3 separate regions of the Homo sapiens genome follow, and regions 1 and 2 are each linked to region 3. Evidence: promoter capture Hi-C in human tissues and cell types (Jung and others, 2019). All regions are on one chromosome and are shown on one strand. Each heading gives the region's core, a stretch centred on a gene start or on the middle of the fragment in contact. The rest is flanking DNA. Distances are from core to core; before and after follow the strand shown.

Region 1 (2,959 bases), core at 62-2,561, 630 kb after region 3:
ATTTATCTTACCCATAATGAGCACCAACCACTTATTGAGCACCAACTATGTACCCAGGACCTGGGCTAGTGCTGGGGACACACTGGCAAAGAGGGACAAAAGCAAGGTCTCTGCCCTTATGGAGGCTGGAGCTTAGGTGAGACAGATATTAACTAAAGATTATGAAAATACACTTCAAATGTTCGTCTTCGTAAGTGACACTGTGCTGGGAGAAAACTCAACATATATTATATTATTTAATAATCACCTTGGACATGAGGTCACCACAGTACATGAAGACATTCTTACCCCTGTTTTATGAGAAGGAACACCAAGGCCAGAGAGGAGGAAACTGAAGTTCAGAGAAGGCAGGTCACACAGAGGGAGCTGAGCTGCAGAAGCTTCTTTTTTTATTACAAATTTTTATTTTACTTTAAGTTCCGGGATACATGTGCAGAACGTGCAGGTTTGTTACCTAGGTATATGTGTGCCACGGTGGTTTGCTGCATTTATCAGCCCATCGCCTAGGTGTTAAGCCTCACATACATTAGTTATTTGTCCTGGTACTTTCCCTTCCCGGGCTGCCCCCCTGCCATCGAATCTTCTTGATGACTTATTTTATTTTTTGAGACGGAGTCTCGCTCTGTCACCCAGGCTAGAGTTCAGTGGCGCCATCTCTGTTCACTGCAACCTCTGCCTCCCGGGTTCAAGTGATTCTCTTGCCTCAGCCTCCCCAGTAGCTGGGATTACCGGCGCCCACCACCACGCCCATCTAATTTTTTTTTTTTTTTTTTTTTTGCATTTTTAGTAGAGACAGGATTTCTCCACGTTGGCCAGGCTGGTCTCGAACTCCTGACCTCAAGTGATCCTCCCGCCTCGGCCTCCTAAAGTGCTGGAATTACAGGCATGAGCCATCATGCCCAGCCAATGACTCATTTTGTAGATGGGGAAACAGAGGCTCAGAAAGCTTAGAGAACTTTTCTGAGGTCACACAGCTATTGAATATAACAGCCATAGTCTGAACCTTGTCTGGTTGACTTTGAGGCCTGGCTCTATACTATCCCTTGTCCTCCTAAGTCTTTTCTTTTGCTAAATGTTCCCCTTCCTCCAGTGTCCCTTACCCTGGCCCGCAAGTCCCTACAGGATGTAGCTCCCCTGCCTCTTGTGACTTCAATGACTGATGCCATTGAGTGATTCTGGCTGTCTCTCCAGCACAGTGCACACATCCCTGCCGCAGGGCCTTTGAACTTGCTGTTCCCTCTTCCTGGAACGCTGTGCCCTGGTTATTTGTGTGATTCTTTCTGTCCCTTTTTTACCTGGCTCAAGTACCTGCTCGGTGGCTCAGAGAAGCCTTTCCTGACCCCTTGCCTAAAATTGTGCTGTTGTGAGTCTTTACGATCCCTCCTCACCTTGCTTTGTTTTTCTCCATTTAAACCACTCCATGGCAGCAGAGGTCATGCTTACACGTTTGTTTATTCTTTATCTGTCCCTCACTAGGCTCTGGGCTCCGTGAGGGCAGTGGCTTCATCTGTGTAATTCCCTGATCTTCCCAGCACCAGGAACAGCGCCCAGCACGCAGTAGGACTTTGATATTTGTTAAGTGAATGAAGGATTTTTTTTTTTTTTTTTTGAGACAGAATCTTGCTCTGTCACCCAAGCTAGAGTGCAGTGGCGTGATCCCGGCTCACTGCAACCTGTGCCTCCCGGATAGGGTTCAAGCAATTCTCCTGCTTCAGCTTCCCAAGTAGCTGGGATCACAAGCACATGACACCGGGCCCAGCTAATTTTTTTATTTTTTAGTAGAGACGAGATTTCACCATGTTGTTCAGGCTGGTCTCGAACTCCTGGCCTACGTCAAGTAGGTCTGCCTGCCTCAGCCTCCCAAAGTGTTGGGATTACAGGTGTGAGCCACTGCTCCTGGCCTGAAGGATTTCTGTCCTTGTTCTGCACAATAGGAGCCTGAGGCTTGGAGGAGCCTCAGGATGGCAAACTGGGCCCTGCTGAGCTCTGAGCCCAGCTCTAGGGCCTGTCCTTCCTGCCATCAATACTCGGAGGAGGCCCCACGGAACCCAGGGAGGCCCAGGAGGCATGGAGGTGGGTGCCGAGAAGTCAGCAGCCTCACCCTTGACAGCTGGCCATGGCAGTCAAGTCCCTGGAACCTGGATTTGGGGGAAAATGATAAAGGTGAAAAAGTTGGCCCTCATTTCCATGTAGGCCTGCCAGCTCCACGAATATCTTGCTACTTACCTGTCCCGACCAGACACAGGACACTTCAAGATTCCAAGAGATGGACCGGCTCAGGGTGATGGGGCTTCCGGGGCTGGTGCTGAAGGGAAGTGCCAATCTCTGAGGACTTCCATAAGCCAGAATGTTTATTTTCTAGTTCAATCCCCACAGTGATCCAAGAAGTTGGAATCAATACCACCTCCCCTTGGCTCTGAGATGGTGTGTGAGGACCCACAATTCCCCTTCTTTTCCTTCCATTTGGGAAACTTCTCTCAATTTTCCTAAAGGTTTACGTTTTATGGTGTGAGAGGAAGTATGAACACAGGAACTGGCTGAGTCTGGGGGCTCAGGAGCCAGGAAGCTTGAGTTCAAATCCTGGCCCCTCACTCCCTGGCTGTGTGACCTTTGGTGGATTTCTGAACCCCGTTAAGTGATCACGATCAGTTTTTTCATCTGGATGATGGGCTGTAATAACTCCTGCCTCTTAGGATTGTTCTGAGGATCAAATGAGTTGATGCACGTGATGTGCTTAGAACAGTGCCAGGGACTTAGTGAGGCTGAGATAAGCTGTCTCTCGTGGGATTCAGAAGCCGGAAGCCCTGAGGGTTCTTTCCTGTCCTCCCACCCTACAGAGCCAGGGTAGGAGCAGAAAAGAGGAGGCAAGGAAACACTGGAAGAAAAGATATACAGATAGTACCCTCACCTGCTCCCTCACCTTGTAAACCTCGTCACAAACCAGTGAGCTTGACAAGGC
Region 2 (3,207 bases), core at 546-3,045, 690 kb after region 3:
GCTGGGCTTGCAGAGTGCTTTCAGACCCCAGGGCCTTTGCATGTGCTATTTCCTCTGCCGCTGAAGCACTTCTCATCTTTTTTTTTCCTGGTCAGCAAATTCTCATTCTTGAAGGGCCTTTCTTCGGCCGGGTGTGGTGGCTCACGCTTGTAATCCCAGCACTTTGGGAGCCCGAGGCGGGTGGATCATGAGGTCAGGAGTTTGAGATGAGCCTGGCCAACATGGTGAAACCCATCTCTAGTAAAAGTATAAAAATTAGCTGGCTGTGGTGGTGTGCACCTGTAATCCCAGCTGCTCAGGAGGCTGAGGCAGAATTGCTTGAACCCAGGAGGCGGAGGTTGCAGTGAGCCAAGATCACGCCACTGCACTCCAGCCTGGGTGAGAGAACAAGGCTCTGTCTGAAAACAATAACAACAACAGAACCTTTCTTCTTCCCACCCACTGAAGTTTCATACTCTTTCCCTCGCCATCCTGTTTCACTGGAGCCCTGTGTGCAGTATGTAATGAAACGAATATTTGGTGTGTATTTGTATAGGGTCTGTTTTCTTCTACCAAACTAAGTTCTACAAGGACCTCTCCTGATTTGCTCCCCACAACATCCACAGTGGCCAGCATAGCACGAGTCATACAGTAGGCACTCATGGTGAACTAATACACAGTGACAAAACCTGCAGGACCTGGTGGCTGTTGGCATGGAGTAGGGAGAAGAGAGGACAAGGAGGGTCCTGAGAAGTGGGGAACAGCTTTGCCTTTAATGGAAGCAGGGCATGGGGAGGTCCCTGGATGCCATTCAGCTCAGTAAATGTTTATTGAGTGTCTGCTAGTTTTTCTACTTCTTTCCCATCAGTTAATCATACAAGCTAGCTCAGAACATGGAAAACATCTCATGGGCCAAATAACGCAGATGAAAGCTCTATGACCTTGGAAGCTACTCCCATAGCAGCTGCCTTGAGATCTCTATGTGTATCTAGGCACAGATGGAAATAAGAATCATAATTGATGCCAGGAATTGCCAATTTAAAAATATAAATGATATACAATGATTTTTAAAAATCCCATAAGATACATATATTTTCCATTTTGCAGAAATGATAACTCAGTCTTAGAGGCAACAAGAGATTTGTCCAAAATCACAGAAAGTAGCAGGACTGTTGAGATTTTACCCCTTGTCCACCTGGCTCTAAAGCCTGTGCTGTTGCCCCATTTACCCTGCAGCCTCTGAAAAGCTGAACCTTGACATGATTGGTCTGTCTGCCATTCCCAGCTTAGCTCGATACAACAGGAGCCAGAGGTCTCATGGTTCAAGCACTCAGTACTGACTAAGCACACCCTCTAGGACCTTGGGGAGCAAGGGGAGCAAATTCAGCAGTCATTATTCTGATTTGCTATTCTTTCATTGATTCTTCCATCTTTTGATTTACTGATTAATGTATTCATTCATTCATTCTACAAAATGAATTGCACAGGCAGACATGTAAATAGGAAATTGTAGCAAGATGTGATTACCTGGGAGTGGCAGTGTTGGAGCAGATTGGCCCTTGTGCTACCAAGGTTCCTAGGATTGGAGGACCAGACAAGTTCTTGAATCTCTAGGACGGGGTGCAGAAATGGAAATCCACTGGAGACATCAAGCATGGCAGCTCCTGTCGGATCCCCGGGAAGGCCAAGCACGTCTCATCTCTTGTTATTCCTCATGTCCTTGCTGCCTTAATCAAAAACAATCGCAGTATGTGTGACTTAAAACGAATGGCCAAGAGGGATAATTCAAAACAGGCATGTCTAGAACTAAGCACCCCACTGGATGGGAATCAAGTGATTATGTGAACAAAGAGAAGGTATCAAGTCAGAGGCCATCTGTTCATTCACAGGCACTCCTCAAGGACTCAGTGCCAGGGCCAGGGCCTCATGGGGCCTACAGTCTAGGGGGCAGAAGAACAATGAACAATGACCATGCAGCAAGCCATGTGCTGGAAGGAGAGATAAACGCAGAGCTGTGAGCCTGGCGGTCTGTGTCTGTAACTGTCCATCTCACCTCTTTCCACACTCAGGACCTGGAGGCCAGAGCATGCCTCTTCGTCGTGTCTGTCTCCCCAGGCAAGGCTGCCAGAGTGCAAAATGAAAATGGCGGGCCCCTTTTTCAAAAAGGAGAAAAGATGTTGACATAGATGTGTTGAAGAGGGATCACTTTTACACCGCTGGTAGGAATGTAAATTAATTCAACCACCATGGAAAACAGGGTGGAGATTCCCAAAAGAACTAAAAGTAGAACTACCATTCAATCCAGAAATCCCATTACTGGGTATCTACGCAAAGGAAAAGAAGTCATTATATTGAAAAATACACTCGCACAAGCATGTTTATAGCAGCACAATTCACAATTGCAAAGATATGGAACCAACCTAAGTGCTCATTGACCAACGAGTGGATAAAGAAAATGTAGTATATATGCACCATGGAATACTACTCAGCCAAAAAATTGAACAAAATAATGTCTTTTGCAGCAATTTGGACAGAGCTCGAGGCCTTTCTAAGTGAAGTAACTCAGGAATGGAAAGCCAAATATCATATATTCTCACCAATAAGTAGGAGCTAAGCTAAGAGGACACAAAGGCGTAAGAGTGATCAGGGACCCTGACGAAGTAGGGAGTAGGGTGAGGGATAAAAACTACATATTAGGTACAGTGTAACTGCTCAGGTGACAGGTGCACTAAAATCTCAGAATCACCACTTAAAAACTTATCCACGTAGCCCAAAACCACCAGTATCCCAAAAAATATTGAAAAATAAAGTTACTGAAATATAAAGCATCTTTTCTTTTGTGGTTTTCTTCTTGCCCTGTGATTCTTTAAATTTACTATTAAACTGCAATCATGGCAGGGTGCAGTGGCTGGCTCATGCCTGTAATCCCAGCACTTTGGGAAGCTGAGGTGGGCAGATCCCCCACGGTCAGGAGTTCGAGACCAGTCTGACCAACACGATGAAATCCCATCTCTACTAAAAATTAGCCAGGCTTGGTGGTGGGCGCCTGTGATCCTAGCTACTCAGAAAGCTGAGGCAGAAGAGTCACTTGAACCCAGGAGGTAGAGGTTGCAGTGAGCTGAGATCATGCCATTGCACTCCAGCCTGGGCAATAGAGCGAGACTCCATCTCAAAAAAACAAAAACAAACAAAAAAACCCTGCAATCTAAGTTAAAATAAAACTAAAAA
Region 3 (2,811 bases), core at 154-2,653:
TCACTGCAACCACCGCCTCCCGGGTTCAAGCAATTCTCCTGCCTCAGCCTCCCGAGTACCTGGGATTACAGGCGCCTGCCACCACGCCGGGCTAATTTTTGTATTTTTAGTAGAGACGGGGTTTCACCATCTTGGCCAGGCTGCTCTATTTGGCCAGGTTGGTCTCGAACTCCTGACCTCGTGATCAGCCCGCCTCAGCCTCTCAAAGTGCTGGGATTACAGGCGTGAGCTACCCTGCCCAGCCTATAACTAAATATTTTAGTTACTTTAAACACAGCTCAAAAGTGGAAACGGCACACCAGAGCTCTAGTTCCAGCACAGCACTGTCTAGACAGGTGATGGACAAGACATTTTTCCTGTCTGGAACGCAATCTGAAAGAATGGGTGGATGGGGGTTGGGTCAGATGGATGATTTCTATTAAGTTTTCCGGGGATTCTGACATGCCCTCTAGGTTCACGTGAGAATCAATGGTCCACATCTGAGGTTTTGGGCCTTTAGATGACCATCGGAAACCCTGGGAAGCATGTTCGTAATATTCTGGGATATCCTCAAAATGTATACATCATCATGCCTGGGCATGAGGTTATTCGTGTTTTTAATTTTAAAAGGTAATAAATGGACGTGGTTTTAAAACATATGAGATAAAAAATATCCAAAATGAAGTATCTGTCTCCCATCCTTAACCTCAGATCTAATCCCCAGAAGCAACCACCACTTACAATTTCTACTGAATTCTTCCATATTCTATGCATTCACAGGTGAACATACATCACAAGTTACCTGTTTTGTACCCAAATGGCGGCATACCATAGTGTTCCACACTTCCCTTTGAAAATCATCCCCATTGGTACATACGAGTCGACCTGATGTGTCAGGTATACATATACCCAAATTTACTTAAACAGCTTTCTGCTGACGGGCAAGGCAGATATTTCCAGTAATTCGCTATTACAAGCAATCCTGAAGTGAAACACTGCGCACATCATTGTACACTGCGGTACACGCATGTTTCTGGTAAATCCTTAAGACTTAAAACTGGTGGGTATTTTTAATTTTAATCGCTATTTCCAAATAGGTGTCAAATCAGCTCTCCAGAGAATTCTGAAGCGCAGCTGAAATGACGATGCACAGCACTCCGCGATTCTAAGGATCTTCCCTGACATTAAATATTCGACTTGCAAAGCCGAAACTCAGTCCTTCCAGACTGGGCCAGGGCTGCCGGAGGCCGGCCGTTTTCCGACGCCTCGCCTCTGAGAACCTCGGGGCGGCTTGGTGCGCGCCTCACCCGGCCCGGCGTCACCCTCGCGGTCCAGCTGGGCCTCGGCGTCCGGCAGGAGGAGGAATCGCCGCCGGAGCTGCTGCCGGGCCCGCGAGGAGTCCATCTTGGTACCGCCCCGAAATGCGACGGAAGTGACGTCAGACACAGCGCTTCCGGCGTCCGCTCCGGGTCTGGACCTCCTGGCGTTTGGATTGGAGACTGTGTTCTCTTCGCTGTTTAGTTAGCGAGCAGCTAGGGTGGAGTCGGCCTCAAAGGTTCCGCTCTCATGTCGGCAAGTGTGATTTGAATTTTAAAACACTGAGCTTTGCCGGTGGAAGAGTTCCCAAGTTTATTCCGACCTACGGAAGCCCAGGAGGACCAGGATTACCGCTGCCGCTGGATGCGTCCAGGGCCGGGATGCGCGACCGTGAGACGCTGCGCTTCCGAAGCCCTCGCAGGCTTCCGGGTGCCAGAGCAGGAGACATACCCTCTGTCCAGCCTTCCACTCTCAGCCCCCAGTTTTTTTCCTACTTTTGCTTTTCAGGAGTCGTCCAGCAAGACTTGAAAGGAGGAGAAAGGCCTGCTGGACAGGATGCTAGAGCCTGGCAGTGACCACTTGGGGGCCCTGGGCATTAAATAAACTTCTTGGGGCCCGTTTCGTTATTACACTTGGCTCTAGATTTGTTGTGCGTTTCAGTGAGAAGTACCTGTATGTGGTTCATGTGAGCCTCCTCCTCGCCACTTGTGAAAAATCCTCCCAGCCTGAACCGAGGGAACTAAATTGCTTTCCCAGCAAACTGCGGTTTTCCACACTGCTCACGCCCACAAACTGTGTGTTACGAGTTCACAACTTTTTCTTCGTCAATAATCCCGCGTATTACTCTCCCAGCCGTTTCCCAGCGTGTCATGTGCTGAGAAATGGTGGGCTTAGCCACGCAAACGTTTACTGAGCATCTACTATTTGGTAGGAGCTGTTAGGCACCATGCTAGCAGTGGAGATAAAGATGAGTAAGACATGGCCTTGCACGTGAGGAGCTCCTTGTCCAAAGAAAACCACAGAGGTATATTACAAGAAAACTCTATTTGTAAATGTATGAAAGCATTTCATCAATGCAGCCAACATTTTCTGAGCAGCTGCATGTGATAAAATGGTGAGGACAGAAGAATCTAGTAGAGGAAGCAGCTTCAATACAGTGCCATAATAAAAACACTGTACATGGGGCATAATAGAAACACTGTACATATAAAGGGCAGTTTATTCTGCTGCAGTGTGGGAGAGCAGGGAGAGTGGTTTCAGGTGAGTTGAATACAGGGGTGGAGAGCCAGCTACATAGGAAGTAAAATTTGAATTAGTAGGCACTGTTTAATATCTTCGATGTGTTGGGGTGTTTGTAAAAGGAATGTAATAAGAAATACTCAAGAAAAGAGTGCCAGCCGCGCGCGGTGGCTCACGCCTGTAATCCCAACACTTTGCGAGGCCGAGGCGGGCGGATCACAAGGTCAGGCGTTTGAGACCAGCCTGGCCAACATGGCGAAACCCCGTCTCTACTAA

Evidence for each region. Contacts are between HindIII fragments. The study calls those that stand out against the background at their distance.
Region 1: a contact is called between a fragment that was not itself captured here and the fragment with the promoter of TMEM128 in region 3, in 1 of the 25 tissues and cell types used here (mesenchymal stem cells).
Region 2: a fragment that was not itself captured here is called in contact with the fragment with the promoter of TMEM128 in region 3 in 2 of the 25 tissues and cell types used here (spleen and thymus).

What each region holds. Positions count from the first base shown.
Region 1 is chr4:4,875,939-4,878,897 of GRCh38, forward strand. No RefSeq gene overlaps it. Among named protein-coding and RNA genes, the nearest start is that of MSX1, 18 kb to the left of the region's middle. The HindIII fragment of the contact is 3,207 bases long and covers 1-2,915 here.
Region 2 is chr4:4,936,086-4,939,292 of GRCh38, forward strand. The region is part of intron 2 of LOC101928306 (a long non-coding RNA gene); the gene reads left to right. Among named protein-coding and RNA genes, the nearest start is that of MSX1, 78 kb to the left of the region's middle. The HindIII fragment of the contact is 6,944 bases long and covers 1-3,207 here.
Region 3 is chr4:4,246,820-4,249,630 of GRCh38, forward strand. It overlaps TMEM128 (transmembrane protein 128), which reads right to left and starts at 1,404. Exons shown (of 5, transcript NM_001297551.2): 1 at 1,287-1,404. The coding sequence starts at 1,383. RefSeq lists enhancers at 746-1,372, 1,675-1,784. The HindIII fragment of the contact is 14,953 bases long and covers 1-2,811 here.